Regions from separate parts of the Homo sapiens genome. Here region 2 is linked to region 1. Evidence: promoter capture Hi-C in human tissues and cell types (Jung and others, 2019). All regions are on one chromosome and are shown on one strand. Each heading gives the region's core, a stretch centred on a gene start or on the middle of the fragment in contact. The rest is flanking DNA. Distances are from core to core; before and after follow the strand shown.

Region 1 (4,799 bases), core at 1,548-4,047:
ACTGAAGACGTTGTGAGAATCATTACGTTAGTCAAGTTTCCCTACACTACGGATTGCCTGATGGTGAATAAGTGTTGACTGCCCACTAAAGGCTTTGACACACTCATTACACTTGTAAGGTTTCTCTCCAGTGTGAACTCTGGGATGTTGTGCCAGGTGTGAATCACGTCCGAAAGCCTTGTCAAAAACTCTTACATTTTTATGGTTTCTCTCCAGTATGAATTCTCCTGTCTTTCGAGGTTTGATTTGCGACTGTAAACTTTGTCACATTCTTCACATTTCTAAGGTTTCTCTCCAGTATGAATTCTATGATGACGTGCAACGTGTGCTTGTTGATTGAAAACCTCGCCACATTCATTACGCTTGTTTCTCTCCAGTATGAATTGTTTTATGAATTACAAGGACTGAATTGTGATGGAAGGTTTTGCCACACTCATTACACTTGTAAGGTTTCTCCCCAGTGTGAATTGTCTTATGAATTACAAGGACTGAATTGTGAGAGTAGGTCTTGCCACACTCATTACACTTGTAATGTTTCTCTCCAGTATGAGTTCTATGATGACGTGCAAGGTGTGCTTGTTGATTAAAAACCTCGCCACATTTATTACACTTGCAAGCGTTCTCTCCAGTATGAAGTCTATGATGACATGCAAGCTTTGCTTTGCGATTAAAAACCTTGCCACATTCATTACACTTGTAAGGTTTCTCTCCAGTATGAATTGCCTTATGAATTACAAGGGCCGAATTTTGACTGAACATCTTACCACACTCATTACACTTGTAAGGTTTCTCTCTAGTATGAATTCTCCTATGACTTTCAAGGTTTGATTTGAATCTGAAAGCTTTATCACATTCTTCACATTTGTAAGGTTTCTCTCCAGCATGAGTTCGCCCGTGAACTGCAAGGTATGAACGATGTCTGAAAAATTTGTCACATTTATCACACTTGTAAGGTCTCTCTTTATTATGGATTCTCCAATGATTTGCAATAGTTGTAGCATTACTGAAGACGTGGTGACAATCATTACATTTGTAAAGTTTCCCTCTGCCATGGATTGCTTGATGGTAAATAAGCGCTGACTGCCTATGAAAGGTTTTGCCACACTCATTGCACTTCTAAGGTTTCTCTCCAGTATGACGTCTATGATGGCATGTGTTAACTCCTTACTGAAGGTCTTGCCACACTCATTACACTTATAAGATTTATTTCCAGTATGAAGTCTATGATGGCGTGTAAGGCATGACTTCTGACTGAAGGTCTTGCCACACTCATTACACTTGTACGGTTTCTCTCCATTATGAATTCTCCTATGTCTTTCAAGATTTGATTTGTATCTGAAAGTTTCATCACATTCTTCACATTTGTAAGGTTTCTCTCCAGTATGAAGTCTATGATGGCATGTAAGGGATGATGTATGACTGAAGGTCTTGCCACACCTATTACACCTGTAAGGTTTCTCACCAGTGTGAATTCTCCTATGTCTTTCAAGGTTTGATTTGAAACTGAAAGCTTCATCACATTCTTCACATTTGTAAGGTTTCTCTCCACTATGAAATTTATGATGGTATACAATGGATGACGTATGACTGAAGATCTTGCCACAATCATTACACTTATAACATTTCTCTCCAGTATGAATTTTCTGACGTATTTCAAGATTTTATTTGAAACTGTAAGCCTTGTCACATTCTCCACACTTGCAAGGTTTCTCTCCACTATGAAGTCTACAATGGCAGGTAAGGGATAACTCCTGACTGAAGGTCTTGCCACACTCATTACATTTGTACAGTTTCTCTCCATTATGAATTCTCCTATGTCTTTCAAGACTTGATTTGAAACGGAAAGCTTCATCACATTCTTCACACTTGTAAGGTTTCTCTCCAGTATGAAGTCTACGATGGCATGTAAGGGTTGACATATGACTGAAGGTCTTGCCACAATCATTACACTTGTATGGTTTCTCTCCAGTATGAGTTATCCTATGACTTTCAAGGTTTGATTTGAAACTGAAAGCTTTGTCACATTCTTCACATTCGTAAGGTTTCTTTCCAGTATGAATGCTACGATGGCATGCAAGGTATGACTTCTGACTAAAGGTCTTGCCACACTCATTACACTTATGTGGTTTCTCTCCAGTATGAATTCTCCTATGTCTTTGAAGGGCTGAATTGTGTCTGAAAGCTTTGTCACATTCTTCACATTTGTAAGGTTTCTCTCCAGTATGAAGTCGATGATGATATGTAAGGGATGACATCTGACTGAAGGACTTGCCACACTCATTACACTTGTAAGGTTTCTCACCAGTGTGACATCTACGATGGCGTGCAAGGTATCGCTTCCGAATAAAGACCTTGTCACATACATCACATTTATATTGTTTCTCTCCTAGATGAATAATCTGATGTTTCCTTAAGAGTGAGCTATAATTAAAGGCTTTGCCACTCTCAATACATTGGAAAGATTTTTCTCTCATGCGTACTTCCTGTCTTTGTGTGAGTAATGAATAATTCAGAAAATTATCCCCATAGTTATTAGATATATGGGTTTTGGGCCTACAAGAAATTCTTTGGGCTGTTGAAACCGAGGAAGCATCGTTGATAGACTTCTCCACTTGATTATTAATTTTCCCTTTGGGCTGAAATATGTGGAGTTCAGACAGATGTGAATGAAAGCTTGATCCAAGCTGATATTTAATAGGCTTGTTTCCAGCATGCCTGTGATCATATTGCTCTGTACTACCCATCAATTTTTTGATTTTTGTCATGGGTGCTTCATGGCCATTTCTTTCATCTTCTTGCCACTGAAACTCAAAGTTATGAATATCTTTCTCAATTTCCTGGAAGGAAAAATCTCCAATGTGATGACGTTCATGTCTTTGCAATGTCCCTGTGTGGATCACTTCTGTATTGCCTTGTGCTGTTGATGAGAACTCCTTCATTGTGCATTTGGAAGAGATACCTACAAAATATAAACACTAATAGGTACACAAAAGACAATACTGATTTTAAACTTCCCAAACATGATCTTCAAAGTTTAGGAACACAAAATCGTAAGATTCTTTAATAAATAAAGGGCGATTACATGTGCTTCAAATTATTATTATGAAAGCTTATTTCCAATATCATGACAAAACACTGAAGGGCACAAACATGTGTAAGCCTAAAATAAGGAGTATTTTTCCACTGTGACCCTAAAGTGTCTAACAGTTTGCAAAAGACATATCACTGTCACATCAATGAAAAGTATATATTCTTCATATTTACAGCATACTTACTGTATACAAATAAATACTAAAGGACCACACAATATAATATACTGGTAAATAATCCACAGCAAGCTCATGTAAGGATAACCAAAATCAATGGAAATTCTGTATTGTTAAATAATCATAGCACTGAGAAGATAAGAAAAGTTTACAAAATTTAGCAAGGCATGGTGGTGCACGTCTGTACTCCCAGCTACTCGCAAGGGTGAGGTACAAGAATTGCTTGAACCCAAGAGGCAGAGGTTGCAGTGAGCCGAGATCGCACCACTGTACTTCAGCCTGGATGACAAAGTGAGACTCCATCTCAAAAAAAAAAAAATATTTTTCTGAATAACTGTCATAAAATTACCTATATCCATGCAGAAAAGGCATATTGTAACATTTAAAATTTTTTTTTTATTTTTGTATTTTTGAGACAATGTTTCACTGTGTCACAACAGGCTGGAGGGCAATGGCCTGATCTCAGCTCACTGCAACCTCCACCTTTTGGGTTCAAGCCATTCTCCTGCCTCAGCCTCCTGAGTACATGGGATTACAGGCACATGCCAGCATGCTTGGCTAATTTTTGTATTTTTAGTAGAGATAGGGTTACATCATATTGGCCAGGCTGGCCTTGAACTTTTGACCTCAAGTGATCCACCCGCCTCAGCCTCCCAAAGTCCTGGGATTGCAGGCGTGAGCCACAGCACCCGCTGGCACTTTGTGACATTAACTAGTAAACTGTGTCAGTTATATTGCATACCACATACCGAAAAGCTTTATGTAAAATCATAAAAATGAATTGGTAAAATAACTGTAACGCATAAAACCAGCAAGCAAATCATAAGTACATTTATACAAACTGCAGAATTCTAAACAATTCCCTGTTAAGAAAAAAGCACAACTTCTACTTACCACCAGCACACAATATAAGAACTGAAATACATGTTAAGATCACTACCTTCTGATGTATGAGGTCAAAAAAATATGCAGCATTATAATGAATAAGAATTCACTAACAGCCGGGTGCAGTGGCTCATGCCTGTAATTCCAGCACTTTGGGAGGCCGAGGTGGGAAGACCATGAGGTCAGGAGTTCAAGAATAGCCTGGCCAACGTGGTGAAACCATAACTCTACTAAAAATACAAAAAAATTAGCTGGGTGTGGTGGCGGGTGCCTGTAATCTCAGCTACTCAGAAGGCTGAGGCAAGAGAATCGTTTGAACCCAGGAGGTAGAGTTTGTGGTGAGCCAAGGTCCCACCACTGCACTCCAGCTTGAGTGACAGGGTGAGACTTCGTCTCTAAGAAAAAAAAAAAGAATTGACTAATAGTGCCGGAGGGTGCAATTATGATGTCACAACTACATTTATGAAACAGCCAGGCAATACAGCAATTCTATATATATATATACATTGCCCTATGTATCTAGTTCACTATGCATAAAATATAAAACATAGAATGTGTACTGGGAAAATTTATAAACTGAGATCAGAGAAAACATTGTATGAAACAAATTAAACAATAAAAACATAAATAAGATGATGCAGGCTCCCT
Region 2 (5,437 bases), core at 2,009-4,508, 250 kb before region 1:
AGGTGAATCACTTGAGACCAGGAGTTCAAGATCAGCCTCCTGGGCAATATAGCGAAACCCCATCTCTACAAAAAATAAAATACAGCCGGGCTCATGCTTGTAATCCCAACACTTTGGGAGGCGTAGTGTGCACCTGTAGACCTGTAGTCCCAGCTACTTGGGGTGCTGAGGTGGTAGGATTGCTTGAGCCCGGGAGGTCGAGGCTGCAGTGAGCTGTGATTGCACCACCGTGCTCCAACCTGAGTAAAAGAGTTTCTGGGAACACAGATGGGCCTCTTGTTTACGTTGTCTGTGGCTGCCTTCGCACTGTGGTGGCATAGTTAAAATAGTTGCTAGAGAGACGGTATGGCCCACAAAGCTTCAATTATTTACTACCTGGTCCTTTACTGGAAAAATTTTCCCATTCTTGCTCTAGGGGGTTGAAGAAAGGTTTACGGGGACGTGAGTAGGAGAGTGTGGGTTTGGGGAATATTGGCGATTGGAATGAGACCTCAGGAATTATCCTAGAGGGACTCTGAATTTAGATTAGATCAGGAAGGCAGTTTAGTGAGAAGAGGGATCATTTTCCAACCTGCAGTACTGTTGGGTGTATGTCTATTTTCGAGGCCATTTCTTTCTGAAGGCTGGGGTTTGGGTATGGGTTCTCATTGAACAAGATGTTCAGATCTTCCAGTTGCTTCTTAGTGAACATGGTTCGTTTCCTGTGTGAATGCATCTGGTCCTTGCCTTGAAAGAGGAGGAAAAAGACACAAATGGGAAATGCTAACAACTCCATTCTCAAAAGCCTGAGCTTTCCTTTCCTTTCCACTGAGGTACAACGTGATGATCAAGTGACTGAGGTTCTGTCACCGAGGCTGGAGTGCAGTGGCACAATCTCAGCTCACTGCAACCTCCACCTCCTGAGTTCAAGCGATTCTCCTGCCTCAGCCTCCCGAGTAGCTGGGATTACAGGCGCACGCCACCATGCCCGGATAATTTTTGTATTTCTAGCAGAGACAGGGTTTCACCATGTTGGCTAGGCTGGTCTCGAACTCCTGACCTCAGGTGATCCACCCGCCTCGGCCTCCCAAAGTGTTGGGATTACATGCGTGAGCCACTGTGCCCGGCCGTGACTGAGGTTCTTAGATATGGAGACACTGCTGGCCGGGGTCGTGCCTCAGGCTGCAGTCCCAGTACTGTGGGAGGCTGAAGCGGGAGGACAACTTGATCTGCCTTTTGTCCTTGTTTTTCCAAGCCTCATTTGTCATTTTCATAGGAAAAGGTTGTTCCTTTCCCCCTTGGTTCCTCCATCCTTTTTTTCTGTTATCATTTAAATATGGGATCCCTTGCTCACGCCTGTAATCCCAGCACTTTGGGAGGCCAGGGCGGGCAGATCATATCAGGTCATGAGTTTGAGACCAGCCTGGCCAGCATGGTGAAACCCCATCTCTATTAAAAACACAAAAATTTGGCCGGGCACAGTGGCTCATGCCTGTAATCCCAGCACTTTGGGAGGCCAAGGCGGGCGGATCATGAGGTCAAGAGATCAAGACCATTCTGGCTAACATGGTGAAACCCTGTCTCTACTAAAAGTACAAAAATTAGCTGGGCGTGATGGTGCACGCCTGTAGTCCCAGCTACTCGGGAGGCTGAGGCAGGAGAATCGCTTGAACCTCAGAGGCAGAGGCTGTGGTGAGCCGAGATTATGCCACTGCACTCCAGCCTGAGACAGAGGGAGACCCTGTCTCAAGAAAATAATAAATAAATAAATAAATAAATACGTAAATAAGGGATCGCTTGTGCCTTACCTCTTGGGTTCTATTTTCTTTGTGTAGAAATAGGCAACTCAATCCAAGGTGAAATGGATGGACATGGTTTTATTCTTATCATTTATTCAATGTTCATTAAGTATATTCTTTTAGGAATATAGCAAGGAAATAAGCAGAAAAATAACATCACTGCTGTCACGGATGTCACCTTTTACTTTCTTTTTCTTGAGACAGTGTACTGCTGTGTTGCCCAGTGGCATGATCACAGCTCACTTCAGCCTCAACCTCCCCAGGCTCAAGCGATCCTCTCACCTCAGCCTCCCGAGTAGCTGGAACTACACAACACTGACATGCCCGGCTAATTTTTGTATTTTTTGTAGAGACAACGTCTTGTTTTGTTGCCCAGGCTGGTCTTGAACTCCTGGGCTGAAGCGATCTGCCCACCTCGGCCTCCCAAAGTGCTGGGATTACAGGCATGAGCCACCGCATGCCTCGCTCTAAAAGATCTGAATCGCATCATGCCTGAAAATGGTTTGGCAGCAGCTCCAGAGTCTAGTAAGTGCTCATGAACATGAGATTTCCAGCTTGGCTAAGCCTATATTCTATCTAGGACCTAATCATCCTCATAGGAATCAGATTCCCCTGTGCTCAAGAACAAGCATCGGGGTGGGAAGAATTAGGACACAACTACGAGGGAGAAGATTTCGGATTTGAAGGCAGAAACAGGCTTCCCTGCATTTGCCTGTGCTGTCAGATGACAGCCGCGGCCGGGCACCGAGGCTCATGCCTGTAATCCCAGCACTTTGGGAGGCCGAGGCCAGCCAATCACATGAGGTCAGGGGCTTGAGACCAACCTAGCTAACATGGTGAAACCCCATCTCTATAAAGATACAAAACTTGGGCCGGGTGCAGTGGCTCACGCCTGTCACCCCAGCACTTTGGGAGGCTGAGCCAGACGGATCACAAGGTCAGGAGTTCGAGACCAGCCTGGTCAATATGGTGAAACCCCCGGCTCTACTAAAAATACAAAAAAAAAAAAAATTAGCCAGGTGTGGTGGCGTGTGCCTGTCATCCCAGCTACTCGGGAGGCTGAGGCAGGAGAATTGCTTGAACCTGGGAGGTGGAGGTTGCAGTGAGCCGAAATCGTGCCACTGCACTCCAGCCTGAGCGACAGAGTGAGACTGTCTCAAAAGACAAACAAAACAAAACAAAACAACAACAACAAAAACGATGACAGCCTCTGTGGGAAGTCCCTGCCACCCACGTGGACGAAGCACCAGCTTCGGCCGCCTGGTCCCTCTGCCTTTTCCCGCCGCCAGCTGCTTTCCACTTCTTCACGTGTCTTTGCTTCGGTTCTCATTTTTTCTGGCTTACCTTTACGAAGATCCTCTGAGCCTGGCATCTTCTAATCCAGATGTGCGCCTGGGTTCAGGTCCAGGGATAAGAACTAGCAAAGATCAAATCCGGATTTAAGTAGCTTCCTCCACAGCCACACCCGACTCCCACCTCCTCCACCTTTCTCTGCCCTATCTGCCTCCAATATGATCCCTCGGTCCTCCAGAGCCCCCTGGATTTCTCCCAATACTGTCATTTTATCTAATATTGATTGAGCGGAGACCAACGACTCAAAGGCGAGTCCACAAACCAGCCCCACTAACACTCCTGGGAGTTGTTAAAATGCAGAATCCTGGCCCACTCCAGACTTCCTGAGCAGAAGCTGCAATTTCTTTTCTTTTTTTCTTTTTCTTTGAGACAGAGTCCCACTCTGTCACCCAGGCTGGAGCGCAATGACACCATCTTGGCTCACTGCAGCCTCTGCCTCCCAGGTTCAAGGGATTCTCATGTCTCAGCCTCCCGAGTAGCTGAGATCACAGGCCTGTGCCACCACTCCTGACTAATTTTTGTATTTTTAGTAGAGACGGAGTTTCCGCCATGTTGGCCAGGCTGGTCTTGAACTCCTGCCCTCAACGTTTCTGACTCGGTCTGGGGTGGGATCTGATGATTTCCATATCTAACAAGCACCCAGGTGACCAGGCTCCGTAATGGGGACCGGGAATGTGATTGTGAATAATGAAGTCCAGGTTTAAACCCTAAAGGGGCTTTCAGGCAACTTATATATTCTTTAGTGGCTAATATATGCTTGGCATTGTTCTGCATATCCTGATTTAGTTAACTCACTCAGAAATCATCTCATTTTATTTATTTATTTATTTATTTAGAGATGGAGTCTCACTCTGTCACCCAGGCTGGAGTGCAGTGGCACGATCTCGGCTCACAGCAACCTCCGCCTCTCAGGTTCAAGCAATTCTCCTGCCTCAGCCTTCCCAGTAGCTGGGATTACAGGCACCCACCACCAAGCCTGGCTAATTACAGGTGGCTCACACCTGTAATCCCAGCACTTTGGGAGGCTGAGGCAGGCGGATCACCTGAGGTCAGGAGTTCGAGACCAGCCTGGCCAACATGGCGAAACCCCATCTCTACTAAAAATACGAAAATTAGCTGGGTGTGGTGGTGGGCACCTGTAATCCCAGCTACTCAGGAGGCTGAGGCAGGAGAATTGCTTGAACCCAGGAGGCAGAGGTTGCAGTGAGCTGAGATCGCACCACTGCACTCCAGCCTGGGTGACAGGAGTGAGACTCCATCTCAAAAAAATAAAAGAAAAAGCTGCAACACCTTTCAGATGCCCAGGCTCACACCATGTATACCTTTTATCTTGACGACAAGGGCAGTTTGACTTCAGGTTCACAGAAGTGGCAGTTTTTCTTGCCATTCCATCCATTTGAATCTCAGTTCTGCACATCTCTACTTGTGACAGTGGTTAGCCTTTGCATAAATGAGCTTGTAGCTACTTTTTTTTTTCTTTTTGAGACAGGGTCTTGCTATGTCTCAAAAAACACAGCTGACTGCAGCCTCGACCTACTGGGCTCAAGTGATCCTCCTACATTTGCCCCCAAGTAGCTGTGACTACAAAGGCCTAGGCCCAGCCTGGAGTGCAGTGGCAAAATCATAGCTCAATGCAGCCTTAACCTCCTGGGCCTAGGTGAGCCTCTCACCTAAGCCTCCTGAGTAACTGGGACTACAGGTGCACACTACCATACCCAGCTAATTTTTGCATTTTTTGTAGAGAAGGGATTTTGGCTAGGCTAGTCTCAAAGTCTTAGGCACAAGCCATCCTCCCACCTCAGCCTCCCAAAGTGCTGGGATTAGTAAGAGGCAGTCTGTGTTGCTCAGGCTGGAGGGCAATTCACAAGCTGATTCCACTACTGATCAGCATGAAAGTTTTTTTTTTTTTTTTTGAGATGGAGTCTCACTCTGTCGCCCAGGTTAGAGTGCAGTGGCGTGATCCCGGCTCACTGCAACCTCTGCCTCCTGGGTTCAAGCAACTCTCCTGCCTCAGCCTCCCAAATAGCTGGGATTATAGGCACATGCCACCATGCCCAGCTAATTTTTTTTTTTGTATTTTTAGTAGAGACAGGGTTTCACCATGTTGGCCAGACTGGTCTCAAACTCCTGACCTCAGGTGATCCATCTGCCTTGGCCTCCCAAAGTGCTGGGATTACATGTGTGAGCCACTGTGCCCAGCCAGCATGAAAATTTTGACCTGCTCCATTTTCAACCTAGACCATTTCCCCACTTCTTAGGCAACCTGGTGGGAGGTCACCATATTGATGCCGAACTTAGTGTGGATG

The links. The method cuts DNA at HindIII sites, captures the fragments that hold promoters and counts their contacts. A contact is called where the count stands out against the background at its distance.
Region 2: the fragment with the promoter of DPRX here is called in contact with a fragment that was not itself captured in region 1 in 4 of the 25 tissues and cell types used here (dorsolateral prefrontal cortex, heart left ventricle, mesenchymal stem cells and 1 more).

Annotation. Positions count from the first base shown.
Region 1 is chr19:53,378,882-53,383,680 of GRCh38, reverse strand. ZNF525 (zinc finger protein 525) reads right to left here. Exons shown (of 4, transcript NM_001348156.2): 4 at 1-2,959. The coding sequence ends at 1,662. Among named protein-coding and RNA genes, the nearest start is that of ZNF765, 14 kb to the left of the region's middle. The HindIII fragment of the contact is 5,110 bases long and covers 243-4,799 here.
Region 2 is chr19:53,629,820-53,635,256 of GRCh38, reverse strand. It overlaps DPRX (divergent-paired related homeobox), which reads right to left and starts at 3,258. Exons shown (of 3, transcript NM_001012728.2): 1 at 3,123-3,258; 2 at 572-726. The coding sequence starts at 3,150. It also overlaps the pseudogene RN7SL317P. The HindIII fragment of the contact is 20,441 bases long and covers 1-5,437 here.